7 separate regions of the Homo sapiens genome follow, and all the other regions are linked to region 7. Evidence: promoter capture Hi-C in 16 types of primary human blood cells and fetal thymus (Javierre and others, 2016). All regions are on one chromosome and are shown on one strand. The core of a region is centred on a gene start or on the middle of the fragment in contact, and the rest is flanking DNA. Distances in the headings are between cores, read along the strand shown.

What was found. Contacts are between HindIII fragments. The CHiCAGO score rates a contact against its expected background, and 5 or more counts as called.
Region 1: a fragment that was not itself captured here is called in contact with the fragment with the promoter of SMARCC2 in region 7 in 1 of 17 cell types (total B cells); the score reaches 5.1 in total B cells.
Region 2: a contact is called between the fragment with the promoter of BAZ2A here and the fragment with the promoter of SMARCC2 in region 7, in 13 of 17 cell types (erythroblasts, M2 macrophages, total B cells and 10 more). The highest score is 9.0, in erythroblasts.
Region 3: a contact is called between a fragment that was not itself captured here and the fragment with the promoter of SMARCC2 in region 7, in 5 of 17 cell types (total CD8 T cells, fetal thymus, naive CD8 T cells and 2 more). The highest score is 7.1, in total CD8 T cells.
Region 4: a fragment that was not itself captured here is called in contact with the fragment with the promoter of SMARCC2 in region 7 in 7 of 17 cell types (total B cells, total CD8 T cells, naive CD8 T cells and 4 more); the score reaches 9.0 in total B cells.
Region 5: a fragment that was not itself captured here is called in contact with the fragment with the promoter of SMARCC2 in region 7 in 2 of 17 cell types (total CD8 T cells and naive CD4 T cells); the score reaches 5.8 in total CD8 T cells.
Region 6: a fragment that was not itself captured here is called in contact with the fragment with the promoter of SMARCC2 in region 7 in 4 of 17 cell types (naive B cells, naive CD4 T cells, erythroblasts and 1 more); the score reaches 7.0 in naive B cells.

What each region holds. Positions count from the first base shown.
Region 1 is chr12:56,670,525-56,674,048 of GRCh38, forward strand. It overlaps PTGES3 (prostaglandin E synthase 3), which reads right to left. Exons shown (of 8, transcript NM_006601.7): 2 at 2,428-2,541; 3 at 2,216-2,285; 4 at 1,225-1,323. It also overlaps the pseudogene RN7SL809P. Among named protein-coding and RNA genes, the nearest start is that of PTGES3, 16 kb to the right of the region's middle. The HindIII fragment of the contact is 1,450 bases long and covers 966-2,415 here.
Region 2 is chr12:56,628,216-56,632,189 of GRCh38, forward strand. It overlaps BAZ2A (bromodomain adjacent to zinc finger domain 2A), which reads right to left and starts at 2,111. Exons shown (of 29, transcript NM_001300905.2): 1 at 1,910-2,111. RefSeq lists a silencer at 1,698-2,047 and enhancers at 2,268-2,317, 2,348-2,417. The HindIII fragment of the contact is 7,835 bases long and covers 868-3,974 here.
Region 3 is chr12:55,716,834-55,720,372 of GRCh38, forward strand. It overlaps BLOC1S1 (biogenesis of lysosomal organelles complex 1 subunit 1), which reads left to right. Exons shown (of 4, transcript NM_001487.4): 2 at 100-172; 3 at 2,258-2,390; 4 at 2,666-2,870. The coding sequence ends at 2,776. It overlaps BLOC1S1-RDH5 (BLOC1S1-RDH5 readthrough), which reads left to right. Exons shown (of 6, transcript NR_037658.1): 2 at 100-172; 3 at 2,258-2,390. Among named protein-coding and RNA genes, the nearest start is that of RDH5, 1.8 kb to the right of the region's middle. RefSeq lists enhancers at 848-1,007, 1,108-1,157, 1,268-1,427. The HindIII fragment of the contact is 2,957 bases long and covers 146-3,102 here.
Region 4 is chr12:55,745,862-55,749,746 of GRCh38, forward strand. GDF11 (growth differentiation factor 11) reads left to right here. Exons shown (of 3, transcript NM_005811.5): 2 at 2,725-3,122; 3 at 3,641-3,885. Among named protein-coding and RNA genes, the nearest start is that of GDF11, 4.7 kb to the left of the region's middle. RefSeq lists enhancers at 654-1,157, 1,158-1,661. The HindIII fragment of the contact is 9,248 bases long and covers 1-3,885 here.
Region 5 is chr12:56,649,556-56,653,587 of GRCh38, forward strand. No RefSeq gene overlaps it. Among named protein-coding and RNA genes, the nearest start is that of ATP5F1B, 5.6 kb to the left of the region's middle. The HindIII fragment of the contact is 2,056 bases long and covers 1,686-3,741 here.
Region 6 is chr12:56,611,319-56,614,853 of GRCh38, forward strand. BAZ2A (bromodomain adjacent to zinc finger domain 2A) reads right to left here. Exons shown (of 29, transcript NM_001300905.2): 4 at 2,635-2,820; 5 at 1,697-1,915; 6 at 455-928; 7 at 255-315. Among named protein-coding and RNA genes, the nearest start is that of BAZ2A, 17 kb to the right of the region's middle. The HindIII fragment of the contact is 2,002 bases long and covers 1,158-3,159 here.
Region 7 is chr12:56,187,425-56,191,463 of GRCh38, forward strand. It overlaps SMARCC2 (SWI/SNF related BAF chromatin remodeling complex subunit C2), which reads right to left and starts at 2,059. Exons shown (of 29, transcript NM_001330288.2): 1 at 1,927-2,059. The coding sequence starts at 2,037. TRS-CGA4-1 (tRNA-Ser (anticodon CGA) 4-1) reads left to right here and starts at 2,940; the gene lies at 2,940-3,021. LOC107984468 (a long non-coding RNA gene) reads left to right here and starts at 3,268. Exons shown (of 2, transcript XR_007063330.1): 1 at 3,268-3,802. RefSeq lists silencers at 1,796-2,015, 2,086-2,365 and an enhancer at 2,606-2,705. The HindIII fragment of the contact is 5,408 bases long and covers 115-4,039 here.

The DNA.
Region 1 (3,524 bases), core at 441-2,940, 480 kb after region 7:
TATGTGAGTTTTGACCAGCTCCGTTTCTGACCAAGGGTCTTGTTTACCCTCTTCAGGCAACCTGGTGGTCCCCGCTTCCTGGGACAACACCGTACTGATGTTAACTTAGCGTGGTTACCTGACATATGGCAATGCAACCCAGACTTGGGCGCAAGTATTTCTCCCACTTCACCCTCCAGAGTAGCTTTTAACTACAACAGGCACATGCTACTGGTGCCTGGCAAAACAATATTTTTTGAACTGTGACTTTGTATTTTTAGGAGGGCATGTAATTAGCACACAAAGAATAGACTAAGCTAAATGAGGTGGCTCACACCTGTAACCCCAACACTTTGGGTGGCCAAGGTGGAAAGACTAGTTGTGTAATCCTTCAGGAGTTCGAGACAGCCTGAGCAATAGTGGATCCTGTATCTGGGGAAAAAACAAAAAAACAAATTTCCTGGGCGTGGTGGCACATTCCTACAATCCTAGCTATTTGGAGAGGTGAGGTGGGTGGGAGGATCGCTTAAGCCCAGGTGGAGGCTACAGTGAGCCATGTTCACACCAGTGCACTCTGGCATGAGTGGCATGAGACTACCTAAAAAAAAAGACTAGGCTGGTGTCGTGGCTCATGCCTGTAGTCCCAGCACTTTGGGAGGCTGAGGTGGGGAGACTGCTTGAGCCCAGAAGTTCAAGACCAAGCTGGGCAACACTGTGATACCCCTTTCTACAAAAAATACAAAAATTAGCCAGGTGTTGTGGCATGCCCCTACAGTCCCAGCTACTTGGGGGACTGAGGAGGGAGGATCACTTGGAGCCTGGGAAACTGAGGCTGCAGTGAGCCAAGATCGTGCCACTGCACTCCAGCCTGGGTGACAAAGAGAGACCCTGTTTTGGGGGAAAAAAAACACTGAAAATTGTTAAACATACCTTTTGAAAACAAATTTACTAGTAAGAACTATTTTCAGTTGATTATTTTTTCACCAAGCTTTGTCCCCTCCCATGTGATAGCTGAGTAATTTATGCAAAGTCTGTCTCTTAAGTACAAAAGATTCTACACCAGTTAATAACTGATATTCTGATCACACTTCGTATTAAAACTGAGTAGACAAAAAACATGAACATGAGGCTTTATACTTAGCTGTGAAACAAAAACACAGCCATATTCCTTACATCAAATAAGTACATCTTTTATTACCTAAAATAAAAATATCAAACTTTTCAAAAAAGGAAAATGAAACCTACCTTTGCCCTTTCTTTTGTTAACCTTGGCCATGACTGGCCAGATTCTCCTTTTCGTAAACAACATAAAATTGATCTGTCCGTTCTTTTATGCTTGGAATCCTAAAAACAAAAGGACCATCATACCATTTATCTTTCCAGCATCACTACATGATAGAAAATAGCTTGTCATTTCTCACCTTTCTCATTTCTTTACCTAAATTTTCTCTGGACTCTGAAACATGCCCTTGACTACTAAAAACTTCAAACTATCCAACTGCCCCAACCCCCTTTAAGTTTCATTTAAAAAAAAATTTTTTTTTCCCTTCTATTTCCTACTGAAATAATCTGCACAACAATAAAGTTTAAAGTTTAACCTGGTACCATTTTTTTCTTTCCTGCACACGATAAACAGAATAAAACCTTAAAAACTTTAACTAAAAATGATATAACCACAGAATGGTTTAAAGATTCTATTCTTAGATAAGGGAAGCCTTGGCCGGGCGCAGTGGCTCATGCCTGTAATCCCAGCACTTTGGGAGGCCGAGGCAGGTGGAACACCTGAGGTCAGGAGTTTGAGACCAGCCTGACCAACATGGTCTTTACTAAAAACACAAAAATTAGCCAGGCATGGTGGCATGTGCCTGTAATCCCAGCTGCTCCAGAGGCTGAGGCAGGAGAATCCCTGGAACCTACGAGGCAGAGGTTGCAGTGAGCCGGGATCGCTCCATTGTACTGCAGCAGTCTCAAAGAACAAAACCAAACAAACAAAAAAACAAAACAAATAAAAAAGATGAGACGAGCCTCAAGGATACTACTCTAAGCCCAAACAGTGATAGCAAAAACAAAAAGTATGCAGAAACCAATTTTGGAGGAAATATTCTACAAAATGTAAATATACATAGTTTGCCTCACTGTTAAGAAAAACAGAACTAATGCTCATTGCTAAAAAGAATACTTGGTATGTCTGTTTCCTCACAACTAAAATTTGGATTAAAGCATAAAGACTACTTACATTTGGATCAATACAGTGAAAAAGATCAATTTCATTTAAATGCTTAAAATTATCACTTCCTCCGAGACAACTGTATAAAATAATAAAGAAAGAATTAAGCCTCTTCAAAGAGACAAAGATTAATAATAACTTCAATGAAAAGACAAGCCAGTCAAAGTTATTCAGTTGTGTGAATGACTATTTTACATCATTGGATAAAAAGCTTAACTTACCTGAATGTAAGTTTGGATTTTTCAAAATTTACATTAACATCCTTACTGTCTTCAACACAAAATTCAATGAAGACATAGTCCCTTCGATCGTACCACTTTGCAGAAGCAGGCTGCCTACAAAAGGATAAAGTAGGGAAAGTCAAGCTGGAATTCATTAACTAAACATTCACATACTAACCTTCGACACCATTATAGCATTATTTCAGGGCAGTTTGTTACAATTTTAAACAAAAACTACATTTTTACCCTAACAGCTACATTCCAAGTTAAAACCTATGGGTCTAACAAGATTTAGTTTCAGAATGATTCCAATTTCATAATAGGAAAGATTTAAAAACCAAACAATGCTTAGTAGAGTTAGCCGTTTATCTAGTCCTATCAAAAATTATGTTACTTGGCTGGGTGCAGTGGCTCACACCTGTAATCCCAGCACTTTGGGAGGCCAAGGCAGGTGGGTCACTTGAGGCCAGGAGAGCTAGAGACCAGCCTGGCCAGCACAGCGAAACCCCGACTCTACTACAAATACAAATACGGAAAAAAAAAAAAAAAAAAAAAAAAAAAGCAGGGTACGGTGGCTCACGCCTGTAATCCCAGCACTTTGGGAGGCTGAGGTGGGTGGATCACCTAAGCTCAGGAGTTCGAGACCAGCCTGACCAACATGGTGAAACCCCATCTCTACTAAAATACAAAAATTAGCCAGGCACAGTGGCAGGCGCCTGTAATCTCAGCTACTTGGGAGGCTGAGGCAGGAGCATCGCTTGAACCTGGGAGGCGGAGGTTGCAATGAGCCGAGATTGCGCCATTGCACTCCAGCCTGGCAACAGAGCGAGACTGTCTCAAAAAAAAAAAAAAAAAAAAAAAATTAGCTGGGCATGGTGATGCAGGCCTGTAGTCCCAGATACTTGAGGGATGGGACTGAGGCACAAGAATCACTTGAACCCGGGAGGTGGAGGCTGCGGTGAGCTGAGATCATGCCACTGCAATCCAGCCTGGGCAACAGAGACTCTGTCTCAAAACAAACAACAACAACAAAAAACACTGGTACATCAGAGCTTCACTTTTTACATTAAGTTCACTGAAACCAGGAGAATCAATCT
Region 2 (3,974 bases), core at 861-3,360, 440 kb after region 7:
AAGAAAAGAAAAAGAAAAGAAAGAAAAATAAAATTCTGTGGCCAACTGTTGCCCCTAACCAAATCCAGTGTGCCACAAAATGCCTGGGGACATAGCACACAGTCCATCACTATATGTTACAGGAGAAATATCCTGGGATTATCAAGTGAAAAGAAAGAAAAAAAAAATCTGGGCACGACTTTGCAGGGAACAGAGGAAAAGCTTACCAATCTCCAAGAAGAATAAGAGGGGAGACGTTCTTTTATGGATTAAAGAGTAAGTCATATGATAACAAACTGTACTATTCTAATTAGTTGATTCTGCAGAAGGTAGTATCTCCAGCACCCCTTAGTCAAATAACAAGCTTCCCACAGGGGCTGCCCTTAGGCTAGAATCACCACCAAGGACTGAGTTCACCAATCTCAGTCTGTTAATCAGTCCCTACCCCCGACACACAAATCCATCTAATAGTTAAATCTTCCTCACCCCTTCCTCTTCGTCCATTTCTTAGAATCTACCCTTCTTCACAAGCTCACTTGCTCAGGTGCTCTGCAATATAGAAACTGTCATAATAACTATACTAAAGTAGGACCCCAAGAAGCTACTCGTGCCACAAAAGCTCTCTAGTCTCCCTGACAGCTCTCTATGCTGAGGGAATTTGCATCACTTACATAGAGCGTACCCCGCTGGTAGATAACTGAGTTTGCTTCTCTATGACCTCTAGCTAAAGGGAAAACAAAACGAAACCAGACAGGAAGACAGAGATGTTCTGGAGAAGGGATTGGGATACGTGAGTCAACTGAAGTTGACTACTTCCAGTTGACAAGTTTACAAAAAAAAAAAAAGTCCAACGAAAGGTCTCTCGGGCCACATGGTTGGCAAGATCCAAGCTTGCCCAGAAGGCTTCAGAAAATGAAACCAAATCTGATTAAAATGGACATTTCAAAACAACAAGACACGCAGCAGCAAACGCACAGCTGCCATTTCCCGGCCACTTCCTGCGGGAGGCTGGGGGAGGGGCTGTTTGTGTACAGATAGAGGTGGAAAGCTATCCCCTCCGTCGTCCCCCAAAGCAGACAAATCTCTCACTCCAATTAACCCTACAAAGGACAACTGCTATTGACATTGCCTTCTCCTGAAAACTGGGAACACCGGGAAAGAAAGGGATGATGCGGTATCATCTTTCTGCCACGGAAGCGGGGATCCCCTCAGTGAGGAATCTCCTTGGAAAAAGGAATTCCTCTTTATTCTTCCCTTCTGCCCCTCAGCCCAGCTCAAATTGGAAAGCCTCAGCGGAAGCCCTATCAACCTCCATCCCCGGAGTGCGCGATTCTCCCGGGACGCGAGGGCCCCAAGCCAAGCGCAGCACCACCCTCAGCAAGGAAGGCCCTCTCCTGATCTTCACGCTCAAGAGAATGGGTGCGCTCCCCGAGGGAGACACCCTCAGACCCCTGGAAACCCCTTCCGCCCTCCACTCACCACAGTCAAAACGCCCAGCTCCCCGCAAACGGAGCGTTTTAACCCGCCAAGGGAACCCCCTCACCCACCCCTCGCGCTCAGGCAATCCCCACCCCCACCCGAGGAGGTGGAGCCCCTCCCGGGGATTCCACCCCAAGTCCCCCACAGGAGTCATCTCCACCAGCCAGGCGGCTTCTCCGCCTCCTCACTGTCGCCGGGAGCCCCTACAGCTCCTCCTGCCCCCGCGGCCCCGTCCGGGGTCCTCAGCAGCCCCACCAGCCCTGTTCTCCTCCCAGACCCCAGAGCAAGGAGACCCTCGCCTCGGGTTGGATCCTCGCAGGAAATAAGCTCCCGTCGGCTTCCCGCCCCGGCAAGGCTCAAGCCGGCTCTGGAGCTTCTGTTCCCCGAGGGAAGCCTCGGATGAAAGCGGGGCTCCCTCCCCCTCAGGCCCCTGGCCACAGACCCCACAAACCTGAGGCAGCGGCGTCCAGCCGGGCTCGGGGCTCGTCTCTCCCCGGGGTACAAGCGGTTCACATGGCCGCGCTCCGGGCGCCAGAACGGGTGGAGACGCCCGCTGGGGAGGGGGTCTGGGGTCCGGGGTTCGGGAAGGGGGAGGGGGACGCGGCTCAACCGCGGGGCCCGAGAGGAGCCAACATGGCCGGCGGGGGAGGAGTGAGTCGGAGCCGGAGGGGGCGGAGAAGCCTCGGCCGGGAGAGAGTCTCCCCACGCGGCCTCCGCCACAGGGTCCTAAAGCCCGCCAGCCCATCTTTCCGACCCGGACCTGGGTCCTAGCGCCGCTGTGCCTCCTGCAACTCTGGCCACCTTGCCCACCTGGCAGCTCCCTCTGCACCCGCATCTCATGGAGGCAGTGGTCCTGCTTCACACAGGGCAAACTGAAAGGCATGCCACAGTCCCAAGGTTAACTTAAAAGACTAGACCAAACGTCTAGGCCCAAAGGCAGGTGCCACTTCTCTAACAGGCTGGTAGGGGTAAGAGTCAGGGGAATTTCGGGGGCAGTTATTTCCCAGGTAGGGTAATGGAAACGTGGAAATAGAAAGGTTAGTCACTCAGGTCGCGATTCAGTAAAGGGATGGGGAGAGGCAAGAGTCAGCCACCCACTCACCTCTGTCCCTTCAGTGCAGCCTGGTCCTGCCTGGATCACCACTTTCCTGGCGACATCTGCAGGGCCCTGGTCACCGGAAAGGAAAGATTCCTGTGCGTGGGGGAAAGAAGGTTCGGCTCTGGAACCAGACAGCAAAGACCTGAGTGTAGCCTAAATGCAGTCAGAGAAGTAAAGGATAAGCTGAAAACTAATCAGCAAAAAGATGCCACAAATGTCCACCCATTCTATGGTTCTGGGAATTTTTTTCTGACAGGGCTACATAACTGTGTGAAAACTCAGAAAAGTAAAATCTAGCAGAGGACTAGAGTTTGGCTGTCACCTAAAATGTCCACTGCAGGGCACCAGGATGAAGAACAGTGTCATATGATGTTAGAGCTTAGAGAATTTCTAGTTCAGGCCGGACGCGGTGGCTCACGGCTGTAATCCCAGCACTTTGGGAGGCCGAGGCAGGTGGATCATGATGTCAGGAGTTCAAGACCAGCCTGACCAACATGATGAAACCCGGTCTCTACTAAAAATACAAAAATTAGCTGGGTGTGGTGGCGTGCCCCTGTAATCTCAGCTACTCAGGAGGCCGAGGCAAGAGAATCGCTTGAACCTGGGAGGTGGAGGTTGCAGTGAACTGAGATCGCGCCATTGCACTCCAGCCTGGGTGACAGAGGGAGACTCTATCTCAAAAAAAAAAAAAAAAAAAAATTCTAGTTCAACCTTCTCTCCTTCATCAAATGAAGAAATTAAGACCCAAAGAGGTTCAATGACTTCTTCAATGTCAAACAGTGGATAAAATATGACAAGAAAGGAAACCAGGTTTCCTTTCCTTGCAACTCAACACTTTGCAGCCTTGAAGATAATTCCCATTTAATTCAATGCAATGCAGTTCTAGAAACAGTTGCCTAAACTGTGCAAAGCTCAGGCTGCTGAATATTCTGGAAAAGCAACAGAGTGGGGATGATGAAACTCTGGCAAGTTGGGGTGTCAACAAATACGTTTTCCTCTGGGGGTCTGAGGAGGAAAGAGATCTGAAAAATGGGCAGAGTTGGGGGGTGAGATCCATCAGTCTACATTGGATTTCCTTACTCCACAGAGGGGTGGGCTCTTCCTGAATTTTGGGGAAAGACTCCACCCCTCCACCCCCCCACTACAAATGGCTCAGAGAGGATAAGAAGGAAGCTAGCTTTAGCAAAGGCTCACAGAGTGTGTGGGCCACAGACACAGAAGGCTAAGGGGGTTTCTCTTCCTCTCTCGAGATAAGTAGATTACCAGTGGAGGGAATAGGCAGGTGGAAACCAAAACCCTTCTCTCCTCCCTGTCAAAACAACAGATTTACAGGTCACCTTGGGGAAAAAAAAATACTCCTCCAACAGCCTGCTGACCTCAAGTCCCTGAGTAAGTAGAGGTCACACTCAGGGTAGAG
Region 3 (3,539 bases), core at 374-2,873, 470 kb before region 7:
CGGCAACTAGCAGAATAGTAATGGATGGGTAGGGAACCTTTAACACTACCCCTCAAAAAACCAAGTCTCCCCTCCAATTCCTTTTCCCCCTCTCCCCAGAAAAGAGGAGGCGAGAGGCTATCACTGCAGCGACCTGCCTGACAGAAGCTTTGGTGGATCACCTCAATGTGGGGTATGGACCTCTTATCAACATCAGTTTCCTCCTTCCCCACCCCGCCCAAGTTTAGGCACTGGCCAGTCTGGCCCTCAAATAGCTGTTGAAGGGGTGGGATGTTCCACTAATTCCCCTATCCTACCCCGCCCCTCCCAGCTCTTTGTAGAGCAACTTGAGTCAACTCTGAGTCCTAGCACTGGGCAAGGGAGGAACAGCTGCCGTGGTTAGAGAAGCAGCCAGATTTCCCCTTCCCCACGTTAACTTCCCTGGCATTTACAACTTGATGCCATCTGCCCACCTCCCTTCACCCTTCCAAGTCCAGCTGTCACTTCAGCAGGAGGGAGAGCACCCTCCTTCATTACAGCTTACCACCCTCTCCTCTGCCTCCCACCCTCTGGCAAGCCTGGGGAGCAGCTGGCAGGAAAGAGATGGCAGAGCTGGTGGTGGTGAGAGTAGAACCTGTTCCGGGAGCTATGGCAGAGCCAGGCTGTCTCTTACCTTCCTATTGGGTCTCTAGGGACCACACCCTGCCCCAGCCCTAAATGAGAATGCAAGTAACAGCCAAAGACTTGGGAAAAAGCAAAGAACATTGTCTCTTGACCCTAAGTGACCCAGAAGCGTGCAGAGATGATGATTTGCTAGTCTGCCTATTGGAAGAAAGGCAGTATGGTACCTTCCACCCCAGGTCAAGTAGAACAGCTCGGTGTGAATCCAGAGACTGAGTCATCCAAGTGAGCCATGCAGGGGCTGGGGTCATCTTTGTTACTCATCTTGGGGGAAGGTTGAGAGAAAGAAAGTTGTGGCTGGGGCCTCTGATCTCCCTTCTCTCCAGGCAGCTCTCTTTACTCAGTGTGAATATAGAAGCAGGTGGTCAATGGGGAAAACCAGAAGTTCAGGAATTCTCAGGGGAGTCTGTTTCAGTTCCTACCCGACCCTTGACAGTGACCCAGCTGTCTCCCAAAAAGAAGGAACAGGGTCTGCCCTCCCATTTCCTCCCTCCCACATTGGCACCTCCTGGGCTCTGCTGTGCCCATCATTTGTGAGATTGGCCCAGGCCTTTCCCTCTTCTTTTCCTTTGCTAGATGCCACCCCACTTTCAGCTTAGAGGGCAGCTAAGCCAAAGCCAGATTAGAAAGGGTTTTGTGTTGCTGCCCACGCCTCCTCTCATTCCCCGGAAAGGAAAACAAAGGCTCAGTCTATCTTGGCCCCTGTCAGGTGTCCTGCCCACTCCCTCAGCCCCCACCAACCCCTTCCCCGCTCCAGCCCCCACACATTCCAGTGGGTGGGGGCACCGGATGTGGAATCTCCTGGCTGAGTAGAGCTCTGGGGTGGGAAGTGAAAAATTCAACAGCCAATAAAGGAGAACAATTATTGCAGGGGTTGGGGAGGGCAAAAAACACTGGCAGAAGGTTGGGGACACCAACCCCATGGTAGTAATGGTAACCACAGCCCATACCTTGATTGAAAAGAAAAACTAGTGCCTAAGGCAGAAGGGAGGGAGAGCATGTGTGTGTGTGTGTGTGTGTGTGTTTGTGTGTGTTCCTTGATCTGTGTGGGCAAAAGCGAAGGCTTGGGAGAGCAACTGAGAGCCGAGAAGAAACCCCTGGGATACCCTCTTTTGACCCAGGGTTCCTGGGGAGGGGGTTTGTACTCCCATCCTAACCCGGCTTCAGGGAGGGGCCCAATTTCCCTCTCCAACTTCTTGCATAGATCCCTAGGCTTCCAATCACTGCCAGATGTGTTCCTCCTGCTGGATTTTCCCAGTTTTTCCATGCCCCTTTTTCCCTCCCAGCTTTTTCCTCAGGGATATCACCCCAGGTTTTCCCTCCCTTCCCCCACTCAGCTGCAGGAACTCCTTTTTGGGGTTTGGAGCTGGTATGTTTCTAGTCAGCTCCGAGCTTGGCTCTCCTGGGAATCCTGGGAGTGAAAGGAAGGAGCTGGGTTTATTTGCATGTACTGGTAGTCATTTGCATCACATCCAAAAATGGCCAAAATTATGAGCCCTGATTCTTGGCTGAACTCCCACTGCTGCAATGGAATATTAGTCCCGGAGACCACCCCCAACTAGCTGGAGCTGATCTCCTCCCTCCTCCAACCCCCCAGTGTGGCCCAGGCCTACATGAACCAGAGAAAGCTGGACCATGAGGTGAAGACCCTACAGGTCCAGGCTGCCCAATTTGCCAAGCAGACAGGCCAGTGGATCGGAATGGTGGAGAACTTCAACCAGGCACTCAAGGTGGGCCATACTCCCTACCTCACCACCCCAATCCTGGGCCCCCATTGGCTGCCTCCAGTCAGGTTACCTCAGGTTTAGGTTAAGGAGGAAGTAGGGTGGTCCCAGAAACCCCATCTATAGCCCCAGTGTCAGAAAAGGTAGAGAAAGAAAGAAAAGCAGTTGGTGGGTCCAAGTAAAGCCTTTTCCAGGAGATGAATAAAACGTATTCCCCAGACTGGAAGCCATACTCTACCCATTCTGATTCCTGGGCTCCCACCTCCTCTCCCCCTTCCCAGGAAATTGGGGATGTGGAGAACTGGGCTCGGAGCATCGAGCTGGACATGCGCACCATTGCCACTGCACTGGAATATGTCTACAAAGGGCAGCTGCAGTCTGCCCCTTCCTAGCCCCTGTTCCCTCCCCCAACCCTATCCCTCCTACCTCACCCGCAGGGGGAAGGAGGGAGGCTGACAAGCCTTGAATAAAACACAAGCCTCCGTTTCTCTGTGGTGTGTTTCAGAGAGCTACTAGCTCCAGTGTCGGGGGTGGGAGTGGAAGGTTCAAAGGTGGTTTCCCTGAGGGACAGGTACCTTTTGGGGAGAGGGTGGAACTAGCTTCCTCTTACTATCCCAACTCTCTTCTCCTCCATGGCCCTTGTGCAGGTGTCTGTTAGGCAAGCAGAGGGTGGGAGTTCCCATCCCTCCTGAGAGAAGGTCCTAGTAGCCCTGCCCCAAGCTTCCTAATTCAGGACTTGTTTCCTACAGAAGAGAAACAAGGCAAGGTACAGGCCTGGTCCCCAGCTCTGGCTTTCTGCCTCTCCACGTGCTCATGGCCTCTCCCAGGCTAACTCTAAGCAGTGTCATGAGTCTGAGCCAGGTGGGAGATTAATTCCTGGGGGCACTTCAGGGCTGAGAAGGGGGAGGAATGACAGGTCCAGTAACCGTTACCAACAGAGCAGTGCAGCTGCCATCCTTGACAGCTCCCTCCTCCTTGGAGACCATGACATAGATGGTCAGGAACCCAGGCTGAGAAAGACAGCCAAGGGGTGGGGGGAGCCTAGGCAAATCTGGCCTCTGCCAAGTCCTGGCTTCAGCCAGGCAAGCTCCAGCCTCCCTGGCTCCTCCTCCTCCTCAGTCCTATCCCCACCCTGTCACACATACACTTAATACG
Region 4 (3,885 bases), core at 1,375-3,874, 440 kb before region 7:
CTTCTGGGAGCCAAGCCCAGCCCGAGTTTCTCTCTCCTCCCCACACCAAGAGGCCCCTGCCCTCTCAGCCCAACCTCCTGCCCTTAGGCCTTCCAGCCATGGTTGGGAGTGTGTGTGTTTGGGGGGGTTAGGGTGGGGGGAAGGGGAGGTGGTGTGCAGGGAGGGGGTTGGGCATTTGCTGAAAATAGTGCAGTGACCTCTCTCTCCCACCAGCGCCGCCTACTAAACCTGACCTGCTGCCTGCCACCAGCCCGATCAATTCAACACAGATGTGGCCCCTTTTCCTCCCCATCAGAGCTCGGCATATGTGTGCTGGGTACTCTCTCGAGCCCCGTTTCCCTCTGTGGCTCTACCTGCTTCTCCTTTGTTCCTCAGTCTGTACCCTTTCTATCCTTTCTCTCCTTTACCCCACTAGGTTTAGCTTCCTCCCACCTTTAGCTTTCTAACCATCACCCACTCCTTTCTATCACTGCCTCTGCATCAGGATTCTCAAACTCTCAAACTTATTCTCCCTTTGCCATGATTATCCCCTGCATCTTTCCACTCTAACTTCTATTTCTCTCCCTATATCTACTAATATGCCTTCAACTCTTAACAGTCTCTTCTCTATTATCTCCCTCACCATCTCCAGTCTCTCCCCTGGCTCTTCTCCCTGCTCTTTTCTTTCTCCCTATGTTCTACCTCCTTGTAGCACTGACTGTCCCCTGTCCACTGGGACAAGTATGTGGAACCAAAGACTTAGATGTAGCCCTCATCTTCAAACCCTGGATCAGCTTAGGTAGAGGGAGGGTTATGTTTAGAGCTTAGTAGAGAATGCGAAAATAGTAGTAGCTTCTCAATAAATGTTGGTTTGTTTGTTTCCTATTTTCACATTCTCTAGTTAATGCTCAGCACTCATGTGAAGCAAGAATTATTATTATCTGTATCACACTGAGAAGTTTGGTGAGTAAGGTTAGATAGTGGTTAGTAAGGAATCAGGCAGTGATTAAACCCACTTCAATTATAGCCAAAGAACAGAATTTAGATGCCAGGAAGAACTTTCAGGCACTTGCCTGTATAATTTAAGATTGGGAGTTTAGGGAGTTCATTCACCATGTATTTATTGAGTGCTGTCTAGCACTATGGGAGGCACTGAAGCTACAATGGTGAGCAAAACAGACACAGTATGAATAACAACAGTGTCCACTCTCATGGAGATTAGTACCTAATGGCAAGAAAATAGACAATTCTTATGCTGAAATTTGTAAAGTATGCTATTTGGGATGTTGCTTGTCACTCCCCATCTCACTAGTAGCTTCCCTATCCCAGCTACTTCTGATCTCTGAATTCTCACCCCCCAAACCCTACTCCATTGCACCATCACTGAAGCTCCAGCCAGTAAAATAACTGGACTACCAGGGCCCTGGGACCTCAGAGAATAATCAAGAAAAAAAAAAGCTATAGAGACTTTGGGTATCATATCCTGAATATATGAAGTTCATTAAGCACTTTCTCCTCATCTCCCTTAGAAGGTCCTCTTTCTCCCAGGGTGGGGGTGGGGAAGAGCTGACAGGACACCCTAAGTCCATCCTGATTTTGCAGAACTCAAGACATGGGGAGGATACTTAAAGGCCTAGACTTCCTAACCCTGCTTATATGGCTCTGGAAGCTCATTCCTGATTCTTCCTATCTAGAGTCAGGATAGACATATTCTGTCCAATGGAGACATGTTGTAGGACACTCCCAACTGACTTAGGAAAGGCAGTGAAGAGGAGCTGGAATGGAGGCAGAGGCAGATATTTATTGAGAATCATCTATTAGACCCAAGAAGGATCAATTTAAGGTCCAGAGCAAGGGGAAATGGGTCAAAATGTAAAGTTGGGATGTTCAAACTTTGTAAAGACCTACTGGCACTAGACTGAGAAGTCAAAGGAAGCTCAGGGGAGAAAAAAGGCATTGTAGTTAATCTGGTGTATTTAATATTATTTCTGGTGCTTTAGGCAAATAGGAGGCAACACCATGGAGGTAATTATTCCTTTCCTCAAGAGCTGGGGGCAGTCATGGTGATGATGATGGAGCAGCAGCTGAAGAAACTTCTTAAGAGAGAATGGGGAGACAGATGTATAGGAAGTGCTTGGATAGTTCCATTTTGCTGGGTGTTATTCCTAATGGGAGTGAGGCAAGAAGCCTAGATCTGAATTCTGGTTTACATAATGGGATAAATTTAGCTCATGCTCCCTATCTGGACCCTGGGTTATCCCCTCTCTGAGGCCATCTGTGTTATTTTGTGGGGGAGGGATGTGCCAGGCTCTACCTGTCCAGCAGATAAATCAGAGCAGATAGGGGAAAGGTGATGGAAGGGCAGCAGGTGTGATAAGAGGTATGGCTTCTATAAAGAGCTTCAAAGATTCAGAAAATGTTGGAGCCTTATATGCTGGGAAAAGTTGGACAGTAAGGATGGTGGTGGATGAATAATTTTGCAGGTTATCTGGTAGACAGGAACCTATATATTAGGGCAAATGGATTAGGAAATGGACACAGATCAGTAAGGCCTTATAGGGCCATCATCCTAAAGAGGAAGTGCTGTTTTAGGTACCGGAGACATGGTATAAGATAGGCATGGGAGAAGGGTAAAGAAGAACTGGAAAATCAGGCTGAGAAGTCCAAAATTGCCAGTGCCACCCAGGACTACTGATCCCCTACACAAACACCCTTTGCTGATGCTGTGCCCTTCTCTCTTATCAGCGGACCCAGCAGTACAGACAGATGGCAGCCCTCTCTGCTGCCATTTTCACTTCAGCCCCAAGGTGATGTTCACAAAGGTACTGAAGGCCCAGCTGTGGGTGTACCTACGGCCTGTACCCCGCCCAGCCACAGTCTACCTGCAGATCTTGCGACTAAAACCCCTAACTGGGGAAGGGACCGCAGGGGGAGGGGGCGGAGGCCGGCGTCACATCCGTATCCGCTCACTGAAGATTGAGCTGCACTCACGCTCAGGCCATTGGCAGAGCATCGACTTCAAGCAAGTGCTACACAGCTGGTTCCGCCAGCCACAGAGCAACTGGGGCATCGAGATCAACGCCTTTGATCCCAGTGGCACAGACCTGGCTGTCACCTCCCTGGGGCCGGGAGCCGAGGGGCTGGTGAGCAGGGGGCCTGAGGTGGTGGATATGTGTAACCTGGCCCTGAGGAGATAGGGTTACATTGGAAAAGGTAGACAAGGAATGTGAAGGAGGTTGGGGACCAGCATTACTTCTCTGGGGTCAGCAGCTGATTCTAGAGGAGGAGGTGAGGAGTGGGGTGGCAACTATTACTTCTCAAGGATCCAAATCAGACAACAGCTGAAAACTGGATTTGAAGGTAAAGGTGTCAGTTAATGGAAGAGCTGTGAGAACAAAAAAACTGGCTGTTGAGGCGTTGGGCCAAGGGGCTGACAGGGATCAGGTTGCCAGAAGAGTAAGAATTAGAGATGGTGAGTTGAAGGAGAGCTAGCTAGCTGGCAAGAAAAGTGGGCAAAAGATAAATTCTGGGGGTGGGAGCAATGGAAAAGCTGAGAAGTCAGCAGTCTCTATTCTGATGCCCCTGGCAGGTGGGAAAGGAACAGGGAAGAGGAACTGTTCAGGACCATATCACATTTCTTTCCCCTCTCCCTGACCCTCAGCATCCATTCATGGAGCTTCGAGTCCTAGAGAACACAAAACGTTCCCGGCGGAACCTGGGTCTGGACTGCGACGAGCACTCAAGCGAGTCCCGCTGCTGCCGATATCCCCTCACAGTGGACTTTGAGGCTTTCGGCTGGGACTGGATCATCGCACCTAAGCGCTACAAGGCCAACTACTGCTCCGGCCAGTGCGAGTACATGTTCATGCAAAAATATCCGCATACCCATTTGGTGCAGCAGGCCAA
Region 5 (4,032 bases), core at 1,464-3,963, 460 kb after region 7:
GTTGCCCAGGCTGGAGTGCAATGGTGCTATCTCGGCTCGCTGCAACCTATGCTTCCCAGGTTCAAGTGATTCTCCTGCCTCAGCCTCCCAAGTAGCTGGGACTACAGGTGCGCACCACCATGCCTGGCTAATTTTTTTGTATTTTTACTAGAGACAGGGTTTCACTATGTTGGCCAGGCTGGTCTCGAACTCCTGAACTCAGGTGATCCGCCCACCTGGAACTCCCAAAGTATTGGGATTACAGACGTGTGTCACTGCCCCCTGCCTACTCTGACATTTCTTTTTTTTTGAGACAGAGTCTTGCTCTGTCACCCAGGCTGGAGTACGGTGGCACAAACTCGGCTCACTGCAACCTCCGCCTCCCAGGTTCAAGCAATTCTCCTGCCTCAGCCTCCTGAGTAGCTGGGATTACAAGCGCACACCACCACACCTGGCTAATATTTTGTATTTTTAGGAGAGATGGGGTTTCACCATGTTGGCCAGGCTGGTCTTGAACTCCTGACCTCGTGATCCACCCACCTCGGCCTCCCAAAGTGCTGGGATTACAGGCATGAGCCATTGCTCCTGGCCTACTTTGACATTTCTTTTTTTTTTTTTTGAGTCAGAGTCTCGCTCTGTTGCCCAGGCTGGAGTGCAGTGGCATGATCTCGGCTCACTGCAAGCTCTGCCTTGCGGGTTCATGCCATTTTCCTGCCTCAGCCTCCTGAGTAGCTGGGACTACAGGCGCCTGCCACCACACACCCAGCTAATTTTTTTTTTGTATTTTTAGTAGAGACGAGGTTTCACCATATTAGCCACGATGGTCTCGATCTCCTGACCTCGTGATCCGCCCGCCTAGGCCTCCCAAAGTGCTGGGATTACAGGCGTGAGCCACCGCGCCTGGTGACATTTCTTAATCCAAGTTTCTAAGAAAAACATTCATACCAGGTAACCGAAGATCATCACTTTTTGAAATGTATCACACATTTGTCCTCTTATCAAATTACCAAGTAATTTAACTTTTCTTGGGTATTAGGGTTATTCATTCAACAAACCTTTTTATCACATTGCAATGCTAAATGCTTTCAGTGTTAATGAGGTGGGGCTCCATGGCTCACGCCTGTAATCTCAGCACTTTGGGACCCCAAGATGGGAGGATTCCTTGAGCCCAGGAGTTTGAGACCAACCTGAGCAATGTAGGGAGACCCCGTCTCTATTAAAAAAAAAAAAAAAAAAAAAAAGGGCCGGGCATGGTGGCTCACGCCTGTAATCCCAGCACTTTGGGAGGCAAAGGCAGGTGGGTCATGAGGTCAGGAGATTGAGACCATCCTGGCTTACGCGGTGAAACCCCGTCTCTACTAAAAATACAAAAAATTAGCCAGGTGTGGTGGTGGGCGCCTGTAATCCCAGCTACTCGGGAGGCTGAGGCAGGAGAATGGCGTGAACCCTGGAGGCGGAGCTTGCTGTGAGCCAAGATCACGCCACTGCACTCCAGCCTGGGCGACAGAGGGAGACTCCATCTCAAAAAAAAAAAAGTTAAAAGTAAAAAAGAGCTATTTCTCCATGAGACCATTAAGCTGAAGTTTGTGAACTCTTAATTTTTCTCACTCTGTTGCTATCAATGTTGGCCTTTAACAACCTCCTCTCCCTCTCCTCTGAAATCAGTTAAATTTATTAATATAAGTAATAATGTCTAAAATAGAATAAGCTTGATTAGCTCAGATTGAGATATGCCTTAACCAGCATTCTGAATAAATAATGTAATCTATTTTAGAGTTGTAACATGTTTTTGTCCTACATATTTTTTTTTGAGATGGAGTCTTGCTATGTTGCCCGGGCTGGAGTGCAGTGGCACGATCTCAGCTCACTGCAAGCTCCGCCTCCGGGTTCACGCCATTCTCCTGCCTCAGCCTCCCGAGTCGCTGGGACTACAGGCACCCGCCACCACGCCCGGCTAATTTTTTTGTATTTTTTTTAGTAGAGACAGGGTTTCACTGTGTTAGCCAGGATGGTCTCGATCTCCTGACCTCGTGATCCGCCCATGTCGGCCTCCCAAAGTGCTGGGATTACAGGCGTGAGCCACGGCGGCCGGCCTTTCCTACGTATTTCTTGATTGAGACCCAGATTGTCCAAGTGATATTTTATATAAAGTACAAGTCGGGGTGGCTGGCCGGGCGGGGGCTGCCCCCCACCTCCCTCCCGGACGGGGCGGCTGGCTGGGCGGGGGCTGCCCCCCACCTCCCTCCCAGACGGGGCGGCTGCCAGGTGGAGACGCTCCTCATTTCCCAGACGGGGCAGCTGCCGGGCGGAGGGGCTCCTCACTTCTTAGACGGGGCGGCCGGGCAGAGACGCTCCTCACCTCCCAGACGGGGTGGCGGTCAGGCAGAGACACTCCTCAGTTCCCAGACGGGGTCGTGGCCGGGCGGAGGCGCTCCTCACATCCCAGACGGGGCGGCGGGGCAGAGGCGCTCCCCACATCTCAGACGATGGGCGGCCAGGCAGAGACGCTCGTCACTTCCCAGATGGGATGGCGGCCGGGAAGAGGCGCTCCTCACTTCCCAGGCTGGGCGGCAGGGCAGAGGGGCTCCTCGCATCCCAGATGATGGGCGGCCAGGCAGAGACGCTCCTCGCTTCCCAGATGGGGTGGCAGCCGGGCAGAGGCTGCAATCTCGGCACTTTGGGAGGCCAGGGCAGGAGGCTGGGAGGTGGAGGCTGTAGCGAGCCCAGATCATGCCACTGCACTCCAGCAAAGACCAGTCAGGCGTGGCGGCACGCGCCTGCAGTCCCGGGCGATCGGCAGGCTGAGGCAGGAGAGTCGGGCAGGGAGGTTGCAGTGAGCCGAGATGGCGGCAGTGCAGTCCAACCTCGGCTCGGCTTCAGAGGGAGACCATGGAGAGAGGGAAGGGGAGGGGGAGGGGGAGGGGGAGGGGAGGGGGAGGGGAGGGGGAGAGGGAGAGGGAGAGGGACGGAACCTGAAGTTCTAGAGTGATGCAGGAGTTACCCCTGCAAGGATGGTTATGTAAAAATGTCAAAAATAAATGGAACCTGAATGGAAAAAAAAAAAAAAAGTACAAGTTATTTTTCACAGGGGAATAGGAACCACACAGACCCACCCAATCTGGTTTCTTATCTGAAGTTAATTCCAAATGACTGTGCTCTGTAATTTAAAATTCATCTTGAAGTGAAAATTACATTTTCCACCAAATCCTTTCATTACTGCTATCCACATTGGTCATACCCCCACATCCTTCCAGTACTCTGGTAATTGGTGGAATGTGTTTTTTTGGTCTCTACTACATTTCTTGACAATCATCCCGGATTATTTCAAATTCCACGAAAAGAACCCATTCAATGCCCTGGCTTCAGAGATCCTCAACCACTTCAATTCCAATTAGTTTTTCACATTCCCATTTCACATAAGCAGCCTACTTCCACAGCCATTCCCAAGTTGAAATATTCTCTTTCAGAAATCCAATATTCCTTTCTTAGGTCACAATTTGGAAGCACTATTTATTACACAAGTAACATATGAACATATTCTAGGTGTACAGGATGAGTTCTTTCACCATTACTTCCAAAACTTCCACTGTCCTTCCCAAAAATGACCATTGAAAAAACTTTTTGCATACATTCCACTCACTTTCTGTTTCATATACATATAATGCAGGGTTCCCCAGTGCCTGGGCCACAGACCAGTACCCGTCCATGGCCTGTTAGGAACCAGGCCACACAGCAGGAGGAGAGTTGTGGTCGAGTGACCAAAGCTTCATCTGTATTTACAGCTTCTCCCCACTGCTCACGTTACCACCTGAATTCTGCCTCCTGTCAGATCAGTGATGGCATTAGATTCTCATAAAAATGGAAACCCTATTGTTGCGGGAAGTCAGGGACCCCAAACGGAGGGACCGGCTGAAGCCACAGCAGAACATAAATTGTGAAGATTTCATGGACATTTATTAGTTCCCCAAATTAATACTTTTATAATTTCTTACGCCTGTTTTTACTGCAATCTCTGAACAGAAATTGTGAAGATTTCATGTACATTTATCACTT
Region 6 (3,535 bases), core at 909-3,408, 420 kb after region 7:
TGGAGCTCCTTGGGCAAAATTGAGTCACTACAAGATGAAAAAAGAATAGGTGATGGAAGACAGACCTTGAGAGAAGAAGGAAAACCTAGGAATCTCATGCCAAGAAACATTATCACTGCAGATAACTGTCCTGTAATCTACTCTTGTCTGGCCCATTCCTCCCCCACCTCAGAGGAAAAGAGGCATTCCCTTCTTTCTAGAGTTGTGCATTAAACTTGTCAAGGTCAATAAATGTAGCAAACTAGAGCATTTACCCATGTTGGAGGGGAAGACGAACTTCTTCTGGGGTAGCAATACGTCTCCTCATGACATCACCTTGGGAGGAAGGGATACCCAAGTTAAGAGTTCAAGCAAAATATTTAAACAATAGGCCAATAGGGAAAGGCTAACTACAACATGGGACAGAAAAGTTTCTTGGAACCAGACAGGGATAGAATAGAATCTGGATACTCACCACTACCAGAAGCAGTGAGTCCTTCTCCAGTGATCTCTTCCACGTCAGCAGTGGTTTCTAGAAAGCTGCTGACATCCTTATTTGCTGGGGAGGCTGTTGGAAAGGCAGCTGCTGGGGAAGTTACGGGAGAGGCTTTTGGGGATGTCACTGAAGCCGTCAACGGGACTTCTAAGGAGACTGCTGGGAGGACTGCTGAGGAAGCTGGAGAGACCACTGAGAAGACTGCTGGAGAGACAACTGTAGAAGCTGCGGGACAAACTTCTGGAGAGATTTCTGGGGAGGCTGCTGGAGAAACCACTAGGGAGACTGCTGGGGAGGTTGTTGGCGAGACTGCTGGTGAGGTTGCTGGATGTAGCTGAATAGTGGATGACTGATCAGGAGCTGGCTGGGTCAGGGATGGTGGGAAGTCTGAAGATTGAGTTTCCATTTCTTCCTGTTCAGCGTCACTACCATTATTCAGGTCAAAGCTGTTATCTAGAATCCAAAGGGACAGGATAGGCTTTAAAAAAAAAAAAGGCATCACATAAAACAAGAGAATCTACTCAGTCAACCCTGGACCAAGCTAAACAGGGTTACTTCAAGGGGTCTTCCCTAGGGTTGGAAAAAGAAGTAGCTTTTTCTCCCAACCAATCATGAGGATTAAAGGGTAAAGTTGCTACAGATGTCATTGTGTGAAGAAATACCTTTTACCTGGTGCCAATAAAGCTTCTAGCCTCCTTCTCCCTACAAATTCCAAGTCTCACAAGTTCTTCAAAGCAGAGGGCACAGGTCGGAGTATAGCAGCCTATACCTCTTTTAGTTCCACCATACACTATCCCATAGCCCCTCAGCTCCCAGCAAGGTGCTCTTGCTTTCCTACTTTTTTTTTGAGATGGAGTCTTGCTCTGTTGCCCAGGTTGGAGTGCAACGACACAATCTCGGCTCACTGCAACCTCTGCCTCCTGGGGCCAAGCGATTCTCCTGCCTCAGCCTCCCAGGTAGCTGGGATTACAGGCATGTGCCAACACACCTGGCTAATTTTTGTATTTTTAGTAGAGGCGGGGTTTCACCATGTTGGCCAGGTGGTCTCAAACTCCTGATCTCAGGTGATCCACCCGCCTCGGCCTCCCGAAGTGCTGAGATTACAGGCGTGAGCCACTGCGCCCAGCCAGATTTCCCACTCTTAAGGCCCTAACTATGAAACTTATTCTCTCATCTTTTCTCAGGTAAAGGTCTTTCTTTGTCCTACCTACCGTCACTTACCTTGCAGGACAGACTCCCCTAGGACAGGTGGAGAGGTGGGACTGGCAAAGATAGAGGTTGATGTTTGACTATCATCTGCCAGGAGACTGAAGGCAGTAGCATTATTGAGGGAAGGGCAATCAAGGGCAGAAATCACAGGGCTGTCCTCAAGAGGCAGCTTGTCCTCTGCACCCATCAGCTCCGTGTCATCAATACCATATAGTCCTCCACTCACTGGCTCTGTTTACAAGGGTAGAAAAATCAGAGCAGGATAATGAGAAAAAAATCAGAAAGCAAGATTTAAGAAACACTGGTCAGAAAACATCCAATTCTAGTTCCCACAATGTGAAGATTCTTCCTAATATTAAGTTAGGTAACAAGTAAAGCCTTCTCCCTGAAAGAGTAGTCATGAGATTATAGGGATCATAAAAGTTTGAGGGGAGGCCGAGGCAGAAGAATTGCTTGAGGCCAGAGTTCAAGACCAGCCTGGACAACATAGCAAGACCTCATCTCTACAAGGTGAAAATGAAAGGAAAGGCATTGGTGGTATTATCTACCCAGAGACCTATGCAAAATTCTAGGATTTATCATAAAATATGTCTTTCTTGTACTTCAGTGGAGTAAAAGGTAACTGCTCACTGACAAATGTTTTCTTCCTAGTTTGTCAGAACCCAGAAAGATCAACTGTGTGATAATAAGTCCCTACCCAGTGAATTATTACAGCCCAGAGCTCTTGGCCAAAAGGAATACTGGGAAAGAACCTGGGACATGAACCAATTCAGCTCAGAATTCAGTTAGGGCACCAAGTCCTGTGGCATGTAACTGTGGTCTGCCTTAGGCCTACCTGGAAGCCCCAGTGCCCCTGATTGCCTAATACTTTTCCCATTTTACTGTCTCTTTCAGGTAAAGTTTGGCTACTCTGCATGGATAAGTTAAAGGGACATAGCCTCCAAACCTACCTGGTGCCAGAGAGTTGAAGGGCTCCAGAGAGTCTTCACTGAGGATTGGAGTGTCTTCCAGTTGATCAGGAAGATGTGAAGGATCATCTAAACAGCTCACTGTGGGGTCAGGGACCAGGACTGAGACCTCTTGGTGTAACGATTCCACAGAAGGGACAGAGCCATTGTAGCCACACATCTTCAGTTCTAGGAAATCACAGGAGAGACCAAAAGTCAAAATCAGTGCCTTATATTGGTTCACTTAGCTATACTAGGCAGTCAATCTTTGCTAGAAGGATGTTCATTCATTCAACATTTATTGCGGCCAGTTCATTGCTGGGAACCGATCACATCAAGATACTCTGAGCAGAGATGTGCTGGTAAAATCAATCCTACAGCAGGCAAAGAGAGGAAAAGAGAGTGGGGTCTGATACAACATCTCTATCATGTTCTCAGATATCTCCTCCATCCATTGGGAAACGAGAAAACATCCTGTAATTTTACAGAGTGGTGGTTACCCTTGTACCAGGAATCAACTGGAAGCTAAGCTTTTATCTATTTTGAGGGAAAAGATGAGAGGGGCTGTCACGTGTACTAATGCTAAACAACAAAAAAAAGGAAACTGAGTAGACAAATAATGATATGCTCTGCCTGCTTCCTTCCCTCCTTCGCATGCCAATCACTACATTGGGCTCAGACGACTTTAACAGCCAGTCTGATCCTGCCACAGTCAGTTAAAACAGCCTCAATGCCCGCTGCTAGACCCTAACCACTCCGTATATTTTGAAAGAAGCCTTTCTTGATGCAGGGTGTCTGTTGGGGCTGTTTCGGGCTCGCCCACCTGCCCTCTCCAGGCCAGAAGCTCTGCATGAGCTTGAAATAATTTGCACTCCCACTCGCGAGCTGGTGCTGCTGCCACAAA
Region 7 (4,039 bases), core at 809-3,308:
CCCCATTTAGTCTCTATAAAGAAAATGGCAAAAGGGAGGCCCTGGACACCCCAACCAGGAAGCTGAAATTCTGCTGCCACCAGCCCAGGTGGCCAGTGTTGGGGGGAACAGGGAAGCTTACTACTCTTCCTCAGTTATACTCTGAAATTGGAGTTGCAGGACCCTATTATCTTGGCACCTCATCTTTAACCAACAGCACTGAGGGTTGTAAAATTCTGGAGGTTTATAAAGTTCAGGTCATGGAAGCAATACCTCTGGGGCTCTAAGAGAGACATTTCTTAGGGGAACTCTGTAAAGCCATGATTCCCCCTATAATGTAGCCTAACAAGAAAAGGTACAAGGAAGTGAAGGAGGGCAAGTTGACTGAGTGAGCTTGTGCATTTTGCTTCTGAAGACTGGGTATAAATGTCTTCATAGGCCCTCCTAGACAGGAAGGGCCATCCACTACCCAGCCTGATGGAGAAGAGCAAGACAACATCTACCCTGTCCGAGGAAACTGTATCTGAGACAAGTAACCCTGGCCCTACTTCTATGTTTCCACACTCTGCTACCTAGTAGCATCCTAGCCTTCCATTCTAATTTGAACCTGAGCCAGGAGACTTTCTTTTTACTTTTTGACCCGTTTTCTCCCCACTCATCACAAAGAAGACAGTGCCTCTCAGTGAGAGGTGAAAAGAGATAGATCTGTGAAGGGAAAGGTAAATGACAAAGAGCTAAGAGCATGGAAGCTGAACCAGGTCACAACTGTCAATTCCCCCAAGGCCGGAGGCTAAGCCCCTAGCCTGATCTCCCTGCAAAAGGTCAAAGGTAGAAGCCTGGGAATAAGAGCCTCTCACAGGCGTAGAGACATGCCATAGAAATAGCAGCTATTTGTCAGGATTCTCACACCCAGAGAGACCCCAAGGGCAGGGCCAGGCTCACAACCAGCATCAGTAGGAAGTTCTCCTAAGCCACTAAGCACACTTCTGACGAGCTGCAAAGCCGGCAGGAAGAACTGGGGAGCTGAAAGAAAGCCATAAAGAGAATCCCTCTCTGAGGGTAGTGAGAAAAAGAGAGGCAGACCATTTCCAGAGAAAACCAGGCCTAGAGACAAAGACGACACCAGGAAGAGGTTTGGTAGAAAAGACAGGTAAGGATTCTTGAACCTTTTGTTCACCACCTTATGATCTCCAGTTATGGGGTTTGGGTGTGAGGGGCTAGAGATAGGAAGCTCACCCTAACCTCTCGACCCCAAACCCAGGGTACTGCAAAGCTAGGTTGCAAGGTGACTTCATTGTAAAATCGAGGAAAGGTTTCGGAAGGGGCCGCTACCCAGGAACTCCTATACCCCGGCTCCCTGAGAGATTCTGTTGCCCCTTAGATGAAGGTGGGGGATGAGCGGCGGAGACAGGTGATCCCTGGGTGGAGACCTTTTTCAGGCTGATGAGCAGCCAACGGCTTGCTCTGTGACTGTTTACCCTCCTGCTTTCCATTCTCTCTCTCTGAACATACACAAAGCACCGGAGAGGCCTCAGCCCCGCTGGTACCTGGCTCCGTGGGGAGCTCTGGCGGGCACGCTCCGGGTTGCGGGGGAGCCCATTGGGCACCCGGTCCACACCCGGCCGGCCGCCTCTCCCAGAAAAGCCAGGAGGGCGATGGCTGAGGGGAAGGTGGGCTAATGGCACCGGGGCCCGCCGGGCAGTAGAGAAAAACAAGGGGCAGAGGGCGCAGCAGTGGGGGCGGGGGCTGGGCTCAGAGGCTGGGGGTGCGGGGAGAGGGAGGCTGGGGGAGGGGCGCGGGAGCGCAGGAGGGCGCGCGGGGGGCTGCTTGGGAGGCCGCGGGGGAGGGGCTGGGGCGCCTGGAGGGTAGGCAGGATCCCGGGGCTGCAGGGCCGCGGTCCCTTTGTCCCGCCCCCGGTCCCCGCGCGGCCCGGCCCGGCCCGCGTACCTTCTTGTAGTTCTTGCCGAGCCACAGCCGCACGTTGTCGAACTGGGTCACGGTGTCCGCGGCCTCGTAGTACTTCACGTTGGGGCCGCCGTCCTTCTTCCGCACCGCCATCTTCTCCGGCTCGGGCCCCGCCGCCGCCCGCCCCACTCAGCTCAGCTCCCGCCTCCTCCGCCTCCTCCTCCGCCCGCCTCCCGCCGCCTCCCGCCGCCGCGGCCGCCGCCTCCCGCCGCCTGGGCCGGCCCCGGTCCGCGCTGCGCCCCCTGCCGGCAGGCCGGGCGCGGCGGCGGAGCTCCAGGCGCGGGCCGACCCTGGCGGCCTCCCCGGCAGCGGAGGCGGGAGCCTCCGGGGAGAAGGACGCTTCCTGGAGGGGGCGCCATTCTCCTGAGATCGCTCTTACCAGACGCGAAGCCCTTTCCCTCTTTTTGCCTCAGCTCGGGAGTGTCACCTCGCTATCCCACTCCAGGCGGCCGCCAGTCGCTGGAGCAGCCCCAACCCGTAGACCCGAGTGGTCCTCACCTTGCGCATTCCTAACCCGACGAAGCCCCTCGTCCCCCAAAACCCCAAACCCCTTTCCCCAAGAAGTTCCTTCCTTCCATCCATTCACAGCAGCTCCCCATTTAAACTTTTCAGAGTCTCCCTCACTCCTCGCGCCTTGTCCACCCAGCACTCCCCTCACTTGTTAACCCAAATGTCCCCTAGTCGCCACCCTGGCGGCCCAGTGCCTTCCCTCAACTGCTTCCTCCGCAGGCCTCGCTGTCGCCTCCTAAGTAGGTGTGAGCTCCTACTCGAGACCCCGACTCTTCGCTAGGCAGGAGACCCTCCCTCCCTGGGTCACCCAGTCCATCCGACTCTTTTTCTTTGGGTGGCGTAGATAGGAGGTAAGGAACCGAGGGGTGGGGAGTCCTCAGGTGTGTGTGTGTCGGGGCCGGTACCCTGCTTCCGGTTCCCGCACGCATTCCCGGATTGCAGTGCGGACCCCTTCTGTAAGCGCGCGATAAAGCGCGGTTTTGGAAGTCACGGTGGCCGAGTGGTTAAGGCGTTGGACTCGAAATCCAATGGGGTTTCCCCGCACAGGTTCGAATCCTGTTCGTGACGGGTTTTTTTTTTTTTTCTTTCTTCTTCTTATTATTAAAAGGGAGTCTCGCTCTGTTGCTCAGGCTGGAGTGCAGTGGCGCGATCTCGGCTCACCGCAACCTCCGCTTCCCGGGTTCAAGCAATTCTCCTGCCTTAGCTTCCCGAGTAGCTGGGACCACAGGCATGCGTCACCATACCTGGCTAATTTTTGTATTTTTAGTAGAGACAGGTTCACCATATTGGCCAGGCTGGTCTCAAACTCCTGACCTCAGGTTATCTGCCCGCCTCGGCCTCCCAAAATGCTGGGATTACAGGCGTCGACTTTTTTAACCCCTTTCACAGCACATAAAGGTAACCCCAGTTCTCACACGTTTCTTTCGTGCACTTTCTCTCTCCAAAAGGGAAGCCGCCAAAAGGTCTTAACCCCTGGATTTGGGAGGATGGGAGTGATCTTGGGAAGTTTAATTATGCACGACTGTATTGGCTGCTAGACTGTGAGGCATTTTCAGAATTTTGTAACTTCAGGCTTCCTGGGAGAGCTTTGGCACATGTCTCATTCTTTTGAGGGCATAGGGAAGGATTTGGTTGAAGGGTTACATTTTGGGAATGTGAGTGGCTGTTTTGCAATATTAGTCAAACTTAGAGTTTCCTCTAAATTTCATGACCAGAAGTCACACCTTGTAGGTCTGATTACACCGAAGACCCAGGAAACAGGATTCTCTCATCTGGATTTCCTTGAGGTGTACAGGGCTAGAAGGGAGTAGTCTATTGAAACATCATTGCAGATCCAGTTAGAGCCAAGGTATGGGAAGATAATTCTCACTTTTTATTGAGTGCTTATTATGTGCCAGATACTGTTTTAAATTATCTATGTGTATTAACCAAGCAAGGAAATTAATCTCATCTTTAACCTTTAACCCTCCTATACTCATCTCACCCCATTTTTCCTATCCCCTAATTTCTGATTGTGGGGAGGATCTAGGCTGCTTGTTGAGGATTTTGTTGTTTGTTTTGGGGGGTTGTTTTTGTGACAGGGTCC